2 separate regions of the Homo sapiens genome follow, and region 1 is linked to region 2. The links are contacts of gene promoters, found by promoter capture Hi-C in blood cells and fetal thymus (Javierre and others, 2016). All regions are on one chromosome and are shown on one strand. The core of a region is centred on a gene start or on the middle of the fragment in contact, and the rest is flanking DNA. Distances in the headings are between cores, read along the strand shown.

What was found. The method cuts DNA at HindIII sites, captures the fragments that hold promoters and counts their contacts. A CHiCAGO score of 5 or more calls a contact.
Region 1: a contact is called between a fragment that was not itself captured here and the fragment with the promoter of MRPS17 in region 2, in 1 of 17 cell types (erythroblasts). The highest score is 6.1, in erythroblasts.

Annotation. Positions count from the first base shown.
Region 1 is chr7:55,730,333-55,736,584 of GRCh38, reverse strand. It overlaps the pseudogene SUMO2P3. Among named protein-coding and RNA genes, the nearest start is that of SEPTIN14, 130 kb to the left of the region's middle. The HindIII fragment of the contact is 3,085 bases long and covers 2,936-6,020 here.
Region 2 is chr7:55,949,630-55,956,397 of GRCh38, reverse strand. It overlaps MRPS17 (mitochondrial ribosomal protein S17), which reads right to left and starts at 4,521. Exons shown (of 3, transcript NM_015969.3): 1 at 4,468-4,521; 2 at 3,080-3,219; 3 at 1-1,489. The coding sequence starts at 3,202. The coding sequence ends at 1,220. RefSeq lists an enhancer at 4,409-4,468. The HindIII fragment of the contact is 16,512 bases long and covers 1-6,768 here.

The DNA of each region.
Region 1 (6,252 bases), core at 3,229-5,728, 220 kb after region 2:
ACTTCCTGGGTTCAAGCAATTCTCCGGCCTCAGCCTCCCAAGTATATGCACATTTACTGCTGAATATTATATATTTTCTTATGCTTTCATGTGATTAATTAGCATTCTTTTTTTTTTCCTTTTTGAGACAGAGTGTTGCTCTGTCACCCAGGCTGGAGGGCAGTGGTGTGATCTCGGCTCACTGCAACCTCCGCCTCATGGTTTAATTGATTCTCCTGCCTCAGCCCCCTGAGTAGTTGGGATTACAGGCACCCGCCACCACACCTGGCTAATTTTTTGTATTTTCAGAAGGCGTGGGTTTTTGCCACGTTGGCCTGGCTGGTCTTGACCTCCTGACCTCAAGTGATCCACCCTCCTCGGCCTCCCAAAATGCTGGGATTACAGGCATGAGCCACCATACCCAGCTGCTTTCTTTCATTTTTACTTGAAAAACTCCGTTAAGCATTTCTTTTAAAGTAGACCTAGTGGTGGCTCATGCCTATAATCCCAGCACTCTGGGAGGCCAAGGTTTCAGGATCGCTTGAGCCCAGGAGTTCAAGACCAGCCTGGGTAACATAATGAGACACCATCTCTACAAAAAATGCAAAAATTAGCTGAGCATGGTGGCACGCACCTGTAGTCCCAGCTACTTGGGATGCTGAGGTGGGAGGATCACTTGAGCCCGGGAAGTCACAGCTGCAGTGAGCCATGATCGCACCACTGCACTCCAGCCTGAACAACAGTGTGAGACCCTGTTTTTTATTTTTTATTTTTTTATTTATTTTTTAAAGACATAGGTAGCTAGAGTAATACAGAGATGAAAGGGAGAGTATTCACACATGCTTCTTAAAATAGAAATTACTAAATTTTATTTTACTTAAAGTTAACAGAAAATGACATATTTGTGAAATTAAAGAAGTTTTTTTTACTACTAGAGATATTAATTCCCAAAAGAGTCATTTAACATGAAGAAAAATGATTATGTTTATAAAAACTACTAAATGGGCATGTTTCACAGCACACATACAGACATACACAGACAGCCACACACACACAACTCTTAAGAGTGATTCTGTGTTTTCTAGGGGAGAAAATATATTTTATTTTCTTGCCCTCATAGGTTCTTAGGTGAAATAGCCTCCTAAAAATAAAAGTCAGCAGAAGTTTGGCTGGGCACTGTGGCTCATGCCTGTAATCCTGGCAATTTGGGAGGCTGAGACGGGTGAATCACCTGAGGTCAGGAGTTTGAGACCAGACTGGACAACATGGTGAAACCCCATCTCTACTAAAAATACAGAAAGTAGCCAGGTGTGGTGGCAGGCGCCTGTAATCCCAGCTACTCAAGAGGCTGAGGCAGGAGAATCGCTTGGACCTGGGAGGCAGAGGTTGCAGTGAGCCAAGATCGTGCCTCTGCACTCCAGACTGGGCAACAGAGCAAGACTCCATGTCAAAAAAAAAAAAAAGTTTATTGAGTCATTGCTGTACCCATCATACAGGAAAGGCTTCTCAGTTCAAGTGGATTTCTTTCTCAAGGCAGTGGCTTAGGGGCCTTGCTTAAATAGTATTTTAACAAAGACTCATAAATCCTATAGTGACAAGAGAGCATCTTCAGGTTTCCAAAAGGTGGGAAAATGTCGGAAGGTTAATAATCTATGGGAAGAGAAAAGTCTCTGGCGCTTTTGTCTATGAGCTTATAAGCAAACCCTTCAAATCCTATCTTTAGGTGGGAAAGGCAGAGAGGAGGCAGGAAAACCTTTTGTCTTTGTAAATTGCCGTCCTGCCATCAGGCAAGCGGAGGGAAGGGTAGAGTGTCCTCTGCCCTTTAATCTTCTTCAGCTCTACAATCCCTAGTATATTACAGAAGAATATTGGTTTCTTTCAGTTTTAACCACATATTTCCACTTTTAAAGCATCCATTGATATCCTGGTACATGGTAAAACTTTCTCTTTGATAGACTGCTGCAGATATCCAATTCCAAGAAGGTCTGTGAGGACTTCATCACTGTTACACTCTCTCCCACTACTCCCTTTTGCTCACCTCTTTTTTATTATTGCTTAGAATTCTTTTTCTTTTTTGGCTTATGGCTCTGATGTGGCTGGAAGGTGCACTCTCTTAGAAGAGGAGAAGGATAGCTTGAGAGTTAGTTAAGTCTCATAAGGCCAGTATCATACATATTGTATTAGTCTATTCTCATGCTGCTATGAAGAAATACCTGAGACTGGGCAATTTATAAAAGAAAGAAGTTTAATTGGCTCACAGTTCCACAGGGCTAGGGAGGCCTCAGGAAACTTACAATCATGGGAGAAGGGGAAGCAAACACGTCCTTCTTCACATGGCAGCAGCAAGGAGAAGTGCTGAGCAATGAGGGGAAAGCCCCTTATAAAACCATCAGATCTGGTGAGAACTCACTATCACCAGAACAGCATGGAGATAACAACCCTCATGATTCAATTACCTCCCACCAGGTCCCTCCCACCACACGTCGGGATTATGGGAACTACAATTCAAGATGAGATTTGGGTGGGGACACAGCCAAAGTATATCACCAAACCATATCATATTCAGCAGCTTTGAGGGAAATGCTATACATATTTATAAGGGAATTGGGTAAACACATATGTCACACACATCCCACATTTACTTTGAGACTGAGTTTTAGCATTAAAACGAGATGGAATTTGGCTCTTTACAACAAAAAGTGAACTACAGGATACACAGACAGTTCGTGCAAATCCTCTATAAGCTGCTGAAACTGGCCAAAAGCCTGCAGTAGCTTATCAGAAAAGAATGTTTGTGAGGCCCGTCCCCTGTCCAATCAGAGTTGTAGTGGTCTGGGTTGTAAATCAGAATTGATAGCTCCTATTGTTAGGGAGTTTAGCCAAAGGAATTTAGACATTTGCCATGCCAGCCAGGCCCTGAACCCTCTGCCCGTAGGTAACTTCATTTCCTGAAGCTTTGAGTGCAACTTAGTCGATAAAGTGGTGTCTATTTTGGTCTCTCAGATCACAAACTTTCTTTTCTTTTTTTCTTTTCTGTTTTTTTTTTTTTTTTTTTTTTGAGATTACTCAGGGATTACAGGCCTAAGCCACCACACCTGGCTTCAGATCATACTTTCTTCCATGCCATTAATTTGCTTTCAGCCTTGTTTAGTCTGTTTCTTGTTGCATCTAGTTAATTTATTACATTTGTAATGTGGAGACGTATGAGTCAGTACAAAGAAGTAAGAAAGTAAGAAAAAGTAAAAAAACCAAAAAAGCAGAACAAAGAGAAAGTCCAAAATGGTGACTATCTTCTGTCTGTGTATAAAAGACTGTGAAGTAGGGCACACCTCCATAAGAGAAGTCACAGGGAGCCATATTTATGTCCTTTGACTTGCTTTTTTCTTCTTCTTTTGTGTTTATTCCTCCTCTGCAAGTAAGTCAGTGCACTCAGGAGAGAGACCATTGGATAGGAGGGGGGAACAGGTGTTGTTCCTCTGGTGATCTTGGACATCAGATTATTTTTTTGCAACCTACAAAACTATAAAGTGAAGTTTTGGCAGTTCCTCAGAAAGTTACCAGTGGAGTTTCTTTTCTTTCTTTCTTTTTTTTTTTTTAAACAAGAAGTTTATTTAAACAACAAGACGCTTGACTTGAAGGGAAAACTATCTAGGTTTCTTTTTTTGTTTTAATTTGTCCCTACTTAAAGACAGATTGCCCTACATGTAACAGCTATGTACAAAAAAGTTATAAAATTGTCCTTGGTTTTACAATGATAAGTGAAAAACATTAAAATTCTGCAATTGAACAAGGTATGCAAGGATTTTTGTGTGTTTTTTTTGTTGTTAAAACAGTGAGAGCAAAATAACTTACTGGAATATAAAGAGCTGAATGAGCATGCCACTAATGGAGAAAGGGGGTATTTTCACAGAATCAGTACTTTTTCCCCATCCCGTCTCCACTTGATGTCAATCAAAACATACCATTGGCTGTTTAGTTAAAAAAAATGCAATATGCTTGTGCACATATACCAGTTATGTACAATAAAGGAATGGGGAAGGGGGAAATGAAAGAACAGAGAAAACCATATGGTAGTAGTCAGGATGTGGTGGAACCAAATTGCAGTTTTCTAATTGAGAATGTAATCTTGGTCTTTAAGGAACAGAGTTCTGGAGTAAAGAAGCAGGTTCCCTTTTCAGTAGACACCTCCCGTCTGCTGTTGGAACACATCAATTGTATCTTCATTCTCCATTTCCAACTGTGCAGGTGTGTCTGTTTCCTTGATTGGTTGCCCGTCGAATCGGAATCTGATCTGCCTCATTGACAATCCCTGTTGCTTACAATAGGCTTTCATTAGTTTACTAAGTGGTGTATGCCTCTTAATCTTAAACTGCACCACAGAACCATCCTGCCCCGCCACCTTCAAATTAGTATGATCGTTGTTCTCCGACTTGACTCCTTGGTTGGGCTTTTCGTCGGCCATGGCGAGCGCCGGTCTCCTCAGCTGCCACTTCACAAAAGAGGTACCAGGTCCGCACCAAACGAGCACACAAGCAGCACCAGGAGCGGCAGAAGGAGGCGGCAGTGGTGGGCGAGGATAGAGCTACCAGTCGGGTTTCATATGATCCAGAAATTCCATTCCTAGATAGTGTCAGGATAGTGTCAGTTTTTTTTTTTTTTTTTTTTTTTTTTTTTTTTTTTTTTTTTTTGAGATGGAGTCTAGCTCTGTTGCTCAGGCTGGAGTGCAGTGGCGGGATCTTAGCTCACGGTAACCTCGCCTCTCAGGTTCTAGCAATTCTTCTGCCTCAGCCTCCCAAGTAGCTGAGACTGCAGGTGTGTGCCACCACAGCCGTCTAATTTTTGTATTTTTAGTAGAGAAGGGGTTTCGCCATGTTGGCCAGGCTGGTCTTTAACTCCTGATCTCAGGAGATCCACCTGCTTCAGCCTCCCAAAGTGCTGGGATTACAGGTGTGAGCCGCTGCGCCCGGCCCCATACTGTCGGTTCTCATTATATGTAGTAATTTTGTTATAAAGTCCCAGCAAATACTGAACTAGCAAACACTGAACCATTGCTTTTAGGAGAAATTCTGGGTTAGGTTTCTGCAAGGCTTTGGTCACAATATTCCCTCAACTGATCAATACATAATCTTGTTTTATGTGTGTTTCTGTTTAAAGACAGTTTATTGGCCGGCTGGCGCCTGTAATCCCAGCACTTTGGGAGGCCGAGGCGAGTGGATCACGAGGTCAGGAGATCGAAACCATCCTGGCTAACACGGTGAAACCCCGTCTCTACTAAAAATACAAAAAATTAGCTGGGTTCACCGGTTCACGTCATTCTCCTGCCTCAGCCTCCCGAGTAGCTGGGACTACAGGTGCCCGCTACCATGCCAGGCTAAATTTTTGTATTTTTAGTAGAGACGGGGTTTCACCCTGTTAGCCAGGATGGTCTCGATCTCCTGACCTCGTGATCCGCCCGCCTCAGCCTTCCAAAGTGCTGGGATTACAGGCCTGAGCCACCGCGCCCGGCCTTTGTTTTTGTTTTGAGACGGAGTCTTGCTCTGTCACCCAGGCTGGAGTGCAGTGGCGCAATCTCGGCTCACTGCAAGCTCCGCCTCCCGGGTTCACGCCATTCTCCTGCCTCAGCCTCCCGAGTAGCTGGGACTACAGGCAGCTGCTACCACGCCCGGCTAATTTTTTGTATTTTTAGTAGAGATGGGGTTTCACCGTGTTAGCCAGGATGGTTTCGATCTCCTGACCTCGTGATCCGCCCGCCTCAGCCTCCCAAAGTGCTGGGATTACAGGCGTGAGCCACCGCGCCCGGCTGACCGTTTTTTAATATGCTTTTTAAAAATAAACAGTTTCCAATATCAATAAGTATATTTTTATAACACTACTTTGATGGCTGTGTAGATGTATGATAATTAATTGAAAGTTTCATATTGGATTATTTCTCTCCATTATTGATGATACTGTAAAGCATATTCTTACAGCTGAGTCTCTGCATGTATTCTTAATTACTTCCTTGGGGTAAATTGGTAGAAATGCTATTGCTGGGTCAAGCTTATACCCATTCATAGAGCTTTTGTTACATATGGTCAAATTCTTCTACAAGTTACTCTTAACTCTTTGTGGTTTCCCCTTCTGGGGAATGATTTCCAAACCACAGGGGTGGGCTCTGGTAGTTAAGTCTGCACTACAAAGCACTGGTCTGCTCATAGCTGATTGGTGGGCAGGGCTGCAGTCCCAAGCCAGTGACGTAAAACACTGATGCTGGGAAAGACCTAGTTTCTGATA
Region 2 (6,768 bases), core at 3,272-5,771:
CCTGTAATCCAAGCACTTTGAGAGGCCCAGGCGGGCGGATCACCTGAGGTCCGGAGTTCAAGACTAGCCTGACAAACATGGAGAAACCCCATCCCTACTAAAAATACAAAATTAGCTGGGCGTGGTGGCACATGCCTGTAATCCTAGCTACTCAGGAGGCTGAAGCAGAATCACTTGAACCTGGGAGGCGGAGGTCGTGGTGGGCTGAGATCATGCCATTGCACTCCAGCCTGGGCAACAAGAGTGAAACTCCAGCTCAAAAAAAAAAAAGACTTTCTTCCTTCAAAATAAAGGTTCTAAGATAAATTCAAAATTCCTTTGAATGAAATAAAGGAAACCGGCTGGGCACAGTGGCTCAGGCCTGTAATCCCAGCACTGTTAGGCCAAGATGGGCAGATTGCTCCCAGGAGTCCGAGACCAACCTGGGCAACACAGGGAGACCCTGTCTCTACAAAATTTACAAAAAATCAGCCAAGTGTAGTGGTACGCTCCTGTGTTCCCAGCTACTCAGAAGGCTGGGGTGGAAAGATGCTAGAGCCAGGGAGGTCAAGGCTGCAGTGAGCCAAGATCATACCACTGCACTCCAGCCCCCACAACAAAGCAAAACCCTGTCTCAAAAGACAAAAATAAAACCTTCTAAAACAGTGAGCTTGCTAAGCACAGTGGCTCACGCCTGTAATCCCAGCACTCTGAGAGGCCAAGGCAGGCAGATCACGAGGTCAGGAGATCAAGACCATCCTGGCTAACACGGTGAAACCCCGTCTCTACTAAAAATACCAAAAAAAAAAAAAAAAAAATTAGCTGGGCATGGTGGCAGGCGCCTGTAGTCCCAGCTACTCGGGAGGCTGAGGCAGGAGAACGGCGTGAACCCGGGAGGCGGAGCTTGCAGTGAGCCAAGATTGCACCACTGCACTCCAGCCTGGGTGACAGAGTGAGATTCCATCTCAAAACAAAAAACTGTGAGCTTACAAAATGCAACAGACTGCTAGGCACACTTAATGTAACGTGGAAGTATGTTCACTGAAATGATGAAAATTTGAAACACGACCATAAACCTTTGTGAAAAACCATAGTATGCCCTTTACTTCATTTGCTTTTAGCTATTTCATAAACACCACAGAGAAACTGGACACAGTTTGTGATGAAACTTAGAAAAATTTCTTTTTCCATAACATAAACATGTCAGTTTTTCCCTTTAGATCCTTCTTCCACTCCCGCTTCACTGTGCTGAAGAGATATTGAGTTCTTCCAGATTTTTGCTTAGCTGGGTGGTTTCCGAACTCAACGGACTCTCCAGGTAGGTAGTTCCAGCACAGGGCTTTCCTGTCACTGGATCTATGACTTTTCCAACTTTGAAAACGATCTCAGCCAGTTCATGTTTCACATGCTTTGCTCGTGGAACAGGTAAAGCTCTGAGAAGCACAATATCCCCAACTGTGCACTGCTGAAGGGCATCGTGAGCAAAGTAGGTTTTCCGCTTATTAAAATACTGTTGAGAGAGGGAGAGAAGCAAATCAGTAGTTCCCATCTGTGACCTGGTAATGTAATATGTAATATGAAAAAGTAACGTATGGAAAACAAGCCAGGACTTAGGAAAAGATAAGATACTAAGGAGGCTTCTAGTACAAAAATTAGAGCCTGAGTGATATAGTGAGACAATCCAGTGAGATGGATTCTCGCTCTGTTGCCCAGGCTGGAGTGCAATGGCACGATCTCAGCTCACTGCAACCTCCGCCTCCCAGATTCATGAGATTCTCCTGCCTCAGCCTCCCAAGTAGCTGGAATTACAGGTGCCTGCCACCATGCCCGGCTAATTTTTTGTATGTTTTTTTAGTAGAGATGGGGTTTCACCATGTTGGCCAGGCTGGTCCTGAACTCCTGACGTCAGGTGATCCACCTGCCTCGGCCTCCCAAAGTGCTGGGATTACAGGCATGAGCCACCGCGCCCAGCCTAGAATCACCTATTCTTTATAACAACCCTGTTGCAGCAGGTACATATGAGAAAAGTTCAGGGAGGTTAAGCCATGTGTGTAGCTGGTAAACAAGAGTCAGTATTCAAACTAAGGTCTCCCAAAGGTCAAGGATCATGCAGTCACTCTTCAGCTTGCTCCTGTGTTTCTAATCCTTGATAATGACCAGCATTGGTACCCACCTGTGTGCTGAACTTTGGATGTGAAACCATCCTTGGCACCTATCCGTCCCCTGGGCACAGCAAACAAATCAATGACTCTGTCCTTCCTGAAATATTTTTTCCACTCCATCCCCACTACATCAACTTTAGTTCAGGTCCTTATTTCCATCCTAGACTTTTGCAGCAGCCTCTTTGCCCATTCCCTTACCTCCAGTCTTCATCCCTACCCGTGTTTCCAAGCCTGTCTTTGGGTTCAAGCAGGGATCCCCAACCCCCAGGGCAGCAGACTGATACCATTCAGTGGCCTGTTAGGAACAGGGCCGCACAGCAGGAGGTGAGTGGCGTTGAGCCAGCATGAGTATTACCGCCTGCGCTCCACCTCCTGTCAGATCAGCAGCGGCATTAGATTCCTATAGGAGCACAAACCCTATTGTGAATTGTGCATGGTAGGCAGAGTTTTGCTCTTGTCCAGGATGGAGTGCAATGGTACAATTGTGGCTCATTGCAACCTCCGCCTCCCGGCTTCAAGAGATTCTCCTGCCTCAGCCTCCAGAGTAGCTAGGATTACAGGTGCGCACCACTATGCCCAGCTAATTTTTGTATTTTTAGTAGAGACGGGGTTTCACCACGTTGGCCAGACTGGTCTCGAACTCCTGATCTCAGGTGATCCAACCGCATCGGCCTCCCAAAGTGCTGGGATTACAGGTGTGAGCCACCTCATCCGGCCAGTACTTTGCATACAGAATGACTACAGCAGTTAGAGTGGATTGACATTAACTGTTTTCTTGGAATGTGTAAACCGTGTTATACCTACAGACCAGCAAAATGCCTGGCTCAAAGCAGATGAGAGACAAGACATCTTTACTGAGAGATAAATGTTTTTTTGCTTAGGACCCAGGACATGGTGGTGATTTACCAAAGCCACCCGGAAACAAGAATGTTTCTCACCTTTAATAAATAGGGATCCAGAACAAGCCTGGTCACTCTCACTTTAGCAGTCTTTTGCATTTTTGTCCCAATCACCTTCCCCACAATCCATCTGGCATGGACGGATGAGCGAACTACGGACATTACGTGGCTTTGGTCACCTGAAAAGCAAATTCCAAAGTCTCATATTCTGGTGGTTATGATGCCACATGAATTTTGTCACAAGAACTGTCCAGGTTAGTCCAGAAACAGTTTTTTTCTTTTTCGTTCCCCCCTCCACCCAGAAACAGTTTTGTTTTGTTTTTTTTTAGATGTAGTCTCTCTCTGTCGCCCAGGCTGGAGTGCGGTGGTGCGATCTTGGCTCACTGCAAACGCCGCCTCCTGGGTTCACGCCATTCTCCTGCCTCAGCCTCCCGAGCAGCTGGGACTACAGGCGCCCGCCACAACGCCCGGCTAATTTTTTTGTATTTTTAGTAGAGATGGAGTTTCACCGTGTTAGCCAGGATGGTCTTGATCTCCTGACCTCGTGATCCGCCCGCCTCGGCCTCCCAGAGTGCTAGGATTACAGGCGTGAGCCACCGCGCCCGGCCATATGTATTTTTCTTTAGATGAAGTTTAGTTCTTTCGCCCAGTCTGGAGTGAAGTGGCGCGATCTCGGCTCACTGCAACCTCCGCCTCCCGGGTTCAAGCGATTCTTCTCCCTCAGCCTCCCGAGTAGCCGGGACTACAGGCCCGCACCACCACGCCGAGCTAATTTTTGTATTTTTAGTAAAGACAGAGTTTCACCATGTTGGCCAGACTGGTCTCGAACTCCTGACCTCAGGTGATCCGCCCGCCTCAAGCCTCCCAAAGTGCTGGGATTAAGAGGCGTGAGCCACCGCGCCCGGCTTGAATCACCATTTCAGAGATGCTTACACGTTCCCCACTACCCAACCTCTCATCTTTACAGCGCTTACAAAGCGGTAACTTTAACTTCGCCAAGCCTCACGTTCCCCTTCTGCAAAATGGGCAGGCCTATTTCGCAGGAGTGCTTTGAGAATTTGACCCACAGAACGCTCAATACCACGGACAAACGCTGGACGTTACTGGTCCCTTATCTCTCTCCACCCCGCTGGGTCGCCTCTCCCCACAGGCTCAGTGCCCAGGTAGCACTCGGCGGGGCCGCCGCGGTGTCCCCCTCCCCGGCCCAGCGACGGATGACTTGGGCTGCTTTTGAGATCAGTTCACAAGCCATTCCACCAGGCTTCGGAAAGGTTGGGGTGATTCGTGCCCTCGCCCCAGACAACCCCGAGGTCAGACGAAGCGATTCGCTCTCAGGGCTCTCACGCGAGGGTGCCTTGGGTCCCCAGCAAATCCTCCCCCGGCAGCAATACCCCGGAGCCTGCCCTCACCTCCACCACGAGACTCACCTCCGCCAAGACTATGCAGCCACCTGCCCCGGGGAGCGCCGGTCGCAGCGGGATGGCGTCACGCCGTACGCATTGGCTCAGTCCCACACTACCCCTCTCGTAGGCCGTGCATCTCCTTAGCCGTGGGCGGAGTTAAAGGCAGGACCCCGCCCACTCTCCCTTAAAGGGACCCGCGGCGGTGGCGGGGTCGGGGGCGCTGACCTCTGGTTTCCTAACGCGCGCAGCTAGTGGACAGTGGCGCAGGAGGTTTCGGACTTTTCTTTCATTCTTTTGTTTTGTTTCTTTTTTTTTTTTTTTTTTTTGAGACGGAGTCTCGCTCTGTCGCCCAGGCTGGTGTGCAGTGGCGCGATCTCTGCTCACTGCAACCTCTGCCTCCCGGGTTCAAGCGATTCTTCTGCCTCAACCTCCCAAGTAGCTGGGATTACAGGCGTGCACCACCATGCCCAGCTAATTTTTGTATTTTTAGTAGAGACAGGGTTTCACATGTTGGCCAGGCTGGTCTCGAACTCCTGGCCTTAAGTGATCCAACCACTTTGGCCTTTCAAAGTGTTGGAATTACAGGCGTGAGCCACCGTGCCTGGCCTAAAAGTGTTTTTTTTTTTTTTTTTTTTGAGACAGGGTCTCACTCTTGTTGCCCAGGCTGGAGTGCAGTGGCATGATCTTGACTCACTGCAACCTCTGCCTCCTGGGTTTAAGGGATTCTCCTGCCTCAGCCTCCTGAGTAGCTGGGACTACAGGCATCTGGCACCACGTCCAGCTAATTTTTTTTATTTTTAGTAGAGACGGGATTTCACCATGTTGGCCAGGCTGTTCTTGAACTCTTGGCCTCAAGTGATCCACCTATTTCGGACTCCCAAAGTTCTGGGATTACAGGCATGAGCCACTGTGCCTGGCTGGTCCAGATTTACCTATACTTTCCCTGACCAGTTATTGTATCAGAAGTTTTTCAAACGAAAAATATCAGTGGGGAGTGGTACTTAGCAACAAAGCTCTGAGTGCTAGGTGAGCAACTTGCTACTGGGATTTTCCTGCCTGTAGGCTATTTCAGCAGATGTAGCTATCGATACATTGAAACATACACACACGCACACACACACCTACCTTTAAACAGCAGTGGGTTTCTTTCTTTTTTGGGACGGAGGCTGTCTCTGTCGCCCAGGCTGGAGTGCACTGGCGCGATCTCGGCTCACTGCAAGCTCCGCCTCCCGGGTTCACGCCATTCTCCTGCCTCAGCCTTCCGAGTAGCTGGGACTACAGGCGCCTGCCACCAGGCCGGCTAATTTTTTGTATTTTTTTTAGTGGAGACGGGGTTTCACCGTGTAAGCCAGGATGGTCTCGATCTCCTGACCTCGTGATCCGCCCGTCTCGGCTTCCCAAAGTGCTGGGATTACAGGCATGAGCCACCAGTGGGTTTCTTCTTTTGCTTCACCAGTTCCGTATTTTTATCTCCTTTCTTCCACAGTTAGAACTCTGGTCCCTACCCCGACAACATCAATGATTAATGCTAAATCCTATAGTATACACTATATGCTTTTGGAGTTGTACTAACAATATCCCGACTAAAAACAAACTTTCTAAGTGATGCGTGAGATTATTTTTTGTGGTTCTTTTTGTCCTTAGAGTGTACAATGACAGCACTGTGTTCAACATTTCTTGGGATTCTTTTTTTTTCTTCTGTGTGGTTGTAACAATATTCTATACAATTAGATTTTTTTTTTTTTTTCAGACGGAGTCTCGCTCACAATCTCGGCTCACTGCAAGCTCTGCCTCCTGGGTTTACGCCATTCTCCTGCCTCAGCATCCCGGGTGGCTGGGACTACAGGCACCCGCCACCACGCCCGGCTAATTTTTCTTGTATTTTTAGTAGAGATGGAGTTTCACCGCGTTAGCCAGGATGGTCTCCATCTTGTGACCTAATGATCCGCCCGCCTCGGCCTCCCAAAGTGTTGGGATTACAGGCGTGAGCCACCGTGCCTGGCCTTCATTTTTATATGTTTGTATACAATTTTGTATTCGAGGATAGGAAAAACCATATCCTTTTAATCTTATTTTTTGAATGTGTAAATCATTAAAATGGTTCAAAAATTAAAACTTTAAGGCTGGGCGCAGTGGCTCACGCCTATAATCCCAGCCCTTTGGGAGGCCGAGGCATGCGGATCACCTGAGGCCAGGAGTTCGAGATCAGCCTGTGGCAACATGGTGAAACTCCATCCCTACTAAAAATACAAAAATTAGCTGGGCATAGTGACACACGCCTGTAATCCCACCTACTCAGGAGGCTAAGGCAGGAGAATCGCTTGA